Regions from separate parts of the Homo sapiens genome. Here region 1 is linked to region 2. The links are contacts of gene promoters, found by promoter capture Hi-C in human tissues and cell types (Jung and others, 2019). All regions are on one chromosome and are shown on one strand. The core of a region is centred on a gene start or on the middle of the fragment in contact, and the rest is flanking DNA. Distances in the headings are between cores, read along the strand shown. Region 1 has its middle 7.2 kb from the start of GLS. Region 2 holds the start of INPP1 (inositol polyphosphate-1-phosphatase).

Region 1 (2,833 bases), core at 151-2,650, 530 kb before region 2:
TTTTTTTTTTTTTTTTTTTTTTTTTTGAGACAGAGTCTCACTCTGTGGCCAGGCTGGAGTGCAGTGGTGCGATCTCAGCTCACTGCAACCTCTGCCTGCTGGGTTCAAGCGATTCTCGTGCCTCAGCCTCCCAAGTAGTTGGGATTACAGGCACATGCCACCACACCCAGCTAATTTTTGTATTTTTGGTAGAGACAGGGTTTCACCATGTTGGGCAGAATGGTCTCGATCTCCTGACCTCATGATCCGCCCACCTTGGCCTCCCAAAGTGTTGGGATTACAGGCAGGAGCCACCGCGCCCAGCCAGTACAATGTATTTTGAAAACTCTGTAGAAACAACCTAAATGTTTATCAGTAGAAGAATGGATTAACATAACATGGCACACATTATGTAATGCACATTATTTAAAACTAATGATCCCTAGTTTCCTATATTAAGTGAATAAGTCTCAAAAACAATGTCGAAGGGGTAAAAGTTACATATGGGTGTATATATATTATACTACCTTGATTTTTTTTTTTTTTTTTTTGAGACGGAGTCTTGCTCTGTCACCCAGTCTGGAGGGCAATGGTGCAATCTCGGCTCACTGCAACCTCCGCCTCCCAAGTTCAAGCAATTCTCCTGCCTCAGTCTCCCAAGTAGCTGGAACTACAGGTGCCTGCCACCATGCCTGGCTAATTTTTGTATTTTTAGTAGAGACAGTGTTTCACCATGTTGGCCGGGCTGGTCTCGATCTCTTGACCTCGTGATCCACCTGCCTTGGCCTCCCAAAGTGCTGAGATTACAGGCATGAGCCACTGTGCCCGGCCTTATAATACTATGATGTTAAAACATGCAAAACAATATATTATTTATAGATTTATACAGATTTTGTTTAAATGTTTAAAACATGCACAGGAATGGCAAACATCAAATTCAGTATAGTGATTATTGTTTCTAAATATGTAATGGAGAATGGCATTGAAGAGTTGTACACAGAGAGTGAAAACTGTATCTGTAATGATTAACTTCATTTTGTTTGTTTTTTTGTTTGATAGAGTTTCACTGTTGTTGCCCAGGCTGGAGTGCAATGGCATGATCTCGGCTCACCACAACCTCCGCTTCCTGGGTTCAAGTGATTCTCCTGCCTCAGCCTCCCAAGCAGCTGGGATTACAGGCGCATGCCACCATGCCCCACTAATTTTTGTATTTTAGTAGAGATGGGATTTCACCATGTTGGCCAGGCTGATCTCAAATTCCTGACCTTGTGATCCACCCACCTCAGCTTCCCAAAGTGCTGGGATTACAGGCATGAGCCACTGCGCCCGGCATGATTAATTTCTTAATAATTTTAAAAATCTGAAGCAAACAGGCAAATATGGTTTGTTATGTTCCCTTTTCTGTGTATTTGAAATATTTTGTGATAAAAGAAAATAAGCTTGGCCGGGCACAGTGGCTGACGCCTGTCATCCCAACACTTCAGGATGCCAAAGCGGGCAGATCACGAGGTCAGGAGTTTGAGATCAGCCTGACCAACATGGTGAAATCCCGTCTCTACTAAAAATACAAAAATTAGTTGGGTGTGGTGGTGTGCGCCTGTAGTCCCAGGTACTTGGGAGGCTGAGGGAGGAGAATTGCTTGAATCCGGAAGGCGGAGGTTGCAGTGAGCCGAGATTGCGCCGTTGTACTCCAGCCTGGGCAACAGAGCGAGACTCTGTCTCAAAAAAAGAAAATAAGCTTTATTTCAATGTTGAAACCCATTACAGCCCTCTAACAATTATTATATGTGTAGAAAATATTACAAATTCTATGATACATTTTAATGGCTCCTTTTAAACTTAATTTCGCCTAACCAATGCTGACTGATATAACTAGTAAGCAATACAGCTACCCTGTAAATTATTTTTCAAAAGGACAATCAAGAGTTACTACCCCTGAAATAAAGGTTTTATTAAAGATAAGAATGACATATTTGACAGAAAAACATTAAAATTATATTTTTTTACTATCTCAGAGATAAATATGAAAGCAATTACTTTACTAATAACATATGAATAAGAAATATATTCTTCCTTCCTTTGATGTTAAAGAGGCTATTTATGTTTGTAACATTTCTGTTGGAGACAGGTGTTGATATGGTTTGGCTGTGTCCCCACTCAAATCTCATCTTGAATTCCCATGTGTTGTGGGAGGGACCTGGTGGCAAGTAATTGAATCATGGGGGCAGGTTTTTCCTGTGCTGTTCTCCTGATAGTGAATCCGTCTCATGAGATCTGATGGTTTTAAAAAGGGGAATTTCCCCACACAAGCTCTCTTCTCTTGTCTGCTACCATGTGAGATGTGCCTTTTACCTTCCGCCATGATTGTGGGGCCTCCCCAGCCGCGTGGAACTGTAAGTCCATTAAACTTCTTTCTTTTGTAAATTGCCCAGTCTCAGGTATGTCTTTATCAGCAACATGAAAATGGACTAATACAGGTATCAATTGCTAAATGTTATGGCTAGAGATATTATAAGTTAATAAGGTCACATGGCTAATTAATAATAGAGTTGCTGAAAACATACCCTTCAGCTAGATCTGGCACTTATCCTCATTTCTTTTGAACCATCAGTGAAATGCCCACCCAAAGACTCTGCTGTGGCTTGAATGTCCTTGACAAAACTCACATTGCAATTTAATTGGCCAGGCGTGGTGGCTCACACCTGTAATCTCAGCACTTTGGGAGACTGAGGAAGGCAGATCATTTGAGGTCAGGAGTTTGGACCAGCCTGGGCAACATGGTGAAACCTAGTCTCTACTAAAAAAAAAAAAATTAGCCAGGTATGGTGGCACATGCCTGTGGCATGTGGTGTGG
Region 2 (2,700 bases), core at 110-2,609:
GCAGGGCTGATCCTTATCAACTTTTCTGGCTTCAAAGCTAGGAATCAGTGTAAAAGGGCTAAAAAATCTTTTACTCAACAGATGGGATCCACTTAAGTGGTCTGTCCATACTTTTAACCCACTGTTCTTTTGAAGTGAACACCATCATACAGTGGGCAAACTTCTGCTTATTCAACACTTTAAAAATACCTTTAAAATGAGAAATCTCCAAAAAACAAGCCGTGGTTTCTTATAAGTGTTTTTCACAGATGTACTAAAGTAAGCGTTTCCTTTCACACTCTTTGCGCCTAACCGTCTACATGATAGGGCCAAACCCAGGTTAAATATTTTTTTCCAGCTACCACTCTGGACACACCAACTAATTATGCACACCTCACAAAACCACCTTTCAAAATGCAGAGAGAATTAACAGCAAGGAAGTAAAGATTTTTCTAAATATAGTCCCATCATATTTATTTCACACTCATCAAGTAGGTCACTGGAGGTAGCTGGCAGCTAGGGACACTCAGATGCATCTCTCAAAGCCAAGGCTGAGACCAAGGGGTCACTGACAGCTGCGCCATCTACCTGTTGCAGCTGGGCCACTGCTCTGGACAACTGTCAGATCAGCTTCTTCGTCCTACAAATACTAATGACTGGATTTTTAAAATCGTTGTTTGCCACCCTTTCTTCCCGCCCCCCAACCCCATCGGGCCGCTCGGGCAGGGCCAAGGGCGCCGCGGGACTCACGAGCTCCCCTCCGCGCTGGCTGCAGCGGCGATGCCGGGCATGCCTGGCCGGGCCCGGCCGGGGGCGGCCTCGCTGCCGGGGCAGGGACCTCGCAGGCCGGCGCGCAGAGGCGAGGAACCCTCCCGGCGCCATCGACTCACCTACCCGCGGAGAGGCGACGGCGCGCGCCGCTCACCAGCCCGGGCCCCAGATCCAAGGAGGAGGGGCAGCGGCGCGGGGACCCTGTGGTGGGTGTCGTAAGGAGGAAAACGTGTTACCTAAGCCGGGGATGAGGACAGAGCAGGAGGCAGCAGCCTTTCCCTCGAGAAACGGAAGCGGCGGGGAGCAGGAGGAGGAGGAGGCGCGGCCCGGGCGCGAGGTTAGGCGAGGGGCGCTGGGCGTGCGGCCGCAGGCGCGGCCAGAGGACGAGGGTTGGGGAGGACGGCGGAGGTCACGCGAGCGAAGGCGAAGCCCCGGCGACGCACGGCCCCGCTTGGCTCGGCACCGGATCCGAGCTTGGCCTCAGCCAGGCCGCCGCCCCCGGCTTTCCCGCGGGACCGCGGCGTGGAAACGCGCGCTGCCGCCTCGGGGCTCCCGGGACGCGCGGGCCCCCCACGCCTGCCCGAGCCGGGCGTCCGCGACGTCACAAGTGGAGCGCGATGATTCAGAGGGAGGGCCAGGAAGGGAAGGGCTCTGGGGTCAGCTTGGCCACGGCTGCTGTTTCCTTGTCGCCGCCCACGAATTCACTTTTAAATCTTCCTCCTCCATTCATCTGTACTCTCATAGGGGACTGCGGGTTTGACAGATGGGTTGGCAGCTGTGAAGATGGACTTCCTGCCAGTGGTATCCGGGTCCCACTGTTCTAATGGAAATGTCAGGTGTACTGGATGTTCCTCAAGACACAGCAGTGTCTCTGGGCCTTGCCTCTTAAGGAGTGGGCCTCGGGCCACCTGGACAGGAAGCGCATCAAGGGTGGGGAACTTATCTCTCTCCAGCCTTTGGTGCTGTGATACTCAGTGTACCTTAAGGATGGTTTGGGTTGAACCTAGGTAGGAATGGGTGTTGGTGGGCGGGGTGGGGGTGGGGGGAATAGAAACCTTAAAAGGGCAACACAAAGTTTTGAATAGAAGAGGCCAAGCAGCCTCGCCCAGAAGCTGATGTTTGTGAATGTACTGGGCCTTCTAAAGCGGCGCTTCACACACCTTTTCACTTCTTGGCACAGGTAGGAAAGGATGATATTACAAGGGTCAAAATGGGGGTAAACAGAAGAGGCTGCTCCTGCAGAAGGCTTCCTGCAGAAGCCCTTGCACTTGGAGGGCTGGGAAGACCCATGCTGTATCTGCATCCCTGTCATTCGTTTCACGGCATCCAGTTGGGAAGCTCTGCTTAAAGCTTTGTCTGGCACGTTTTCTTAGCTACATTTTTCCACTCCAGCTGAGACTGCCTCACTGAGTTGTCAACACTTGGTCTTCTTCAGCAGTGAGGAACCAACAAGACAGGAGGCTGGGTCAATACTCAACTTGGCAAACTCCAGGAAATGGTGCTTAAAACGTTTGGCTTCTTGAATGGAATTCATGGTACTGCTCCCAGCCTGCACCTGGGTTCTCCAACTTGAGACAATTTCTCCCCGCATCCCCCCACCCTTCCCTGGCTTTCACTCACTAGCAAGTGGGCTGCTTCTACTTTCTTTCTCACATTCATTTCTTAGGTCCATTCTCAGAGCGGTTAGGATTACTGTTTAATTAGCCTCATAATCATATCTATGATGGCAAAATCAAGAAACAATTTAAACATGATTCTTAAAAGTAAGGAGATAAATACCAGAGACATAGAAGGTGAAAGAATTTGCCTCTAGGAAGCAGGAATTTAAATTTGGGGAAGACAGGGTGGAGCAAGGGATATAAATCTAGTCCATTTTTCTTTTCTTTTCTTTTCTTTTTTTTTTATTTTTAAGATAGAGTCTCACTCTGTCGCCCAGGCTGGAGTGCAGTG

What was found. Contacts are between HindIII fragments. The study calls those that stand out against the background at their distance.
Region 1: a contact is called between a fragment that was not itself captured here and the fragment with the promoter of INPP1 in region 2, in 1 of the 25 tissues and cell types used here (hippocampus).

What each region holds. Positions count from the first base shown.
Region 1 is chr2:190,872,188-190,875,020 of GRCh38, reverse strand. No RefSeq gene overlaps it. Among named protein-coding and RNA genes, the nearest start is that of GLS, 7.2 kb to the left of the region's middle. The HindIII fragment of the contact is 3,999 bases long and covers 1-2,833 here.
Region 2 is chr2:190,342,248-190,344,947 of GRCh38, reverse strand. INPP1 (inositol polyphosphate-1-phosphatase) reads right to left here and starts at 1,359. Exons shown (of 7, transcript NM_001128928.2): 1 at 987-1,359. It overlaps LOC124906109 (serine/arginine repetitive matrix protein 1), which reads left to right. Exons shown (of 1, transcript XM_047446773.1): 1 at 1-2,700. The coding sequence starts at 632. The coding sequence ends at 1,510. RefSeq lists silencers at 664-993, 1,064-1,373. The HindIII fragment of the contact is 3,445 bases long and covers 1-2,551 here.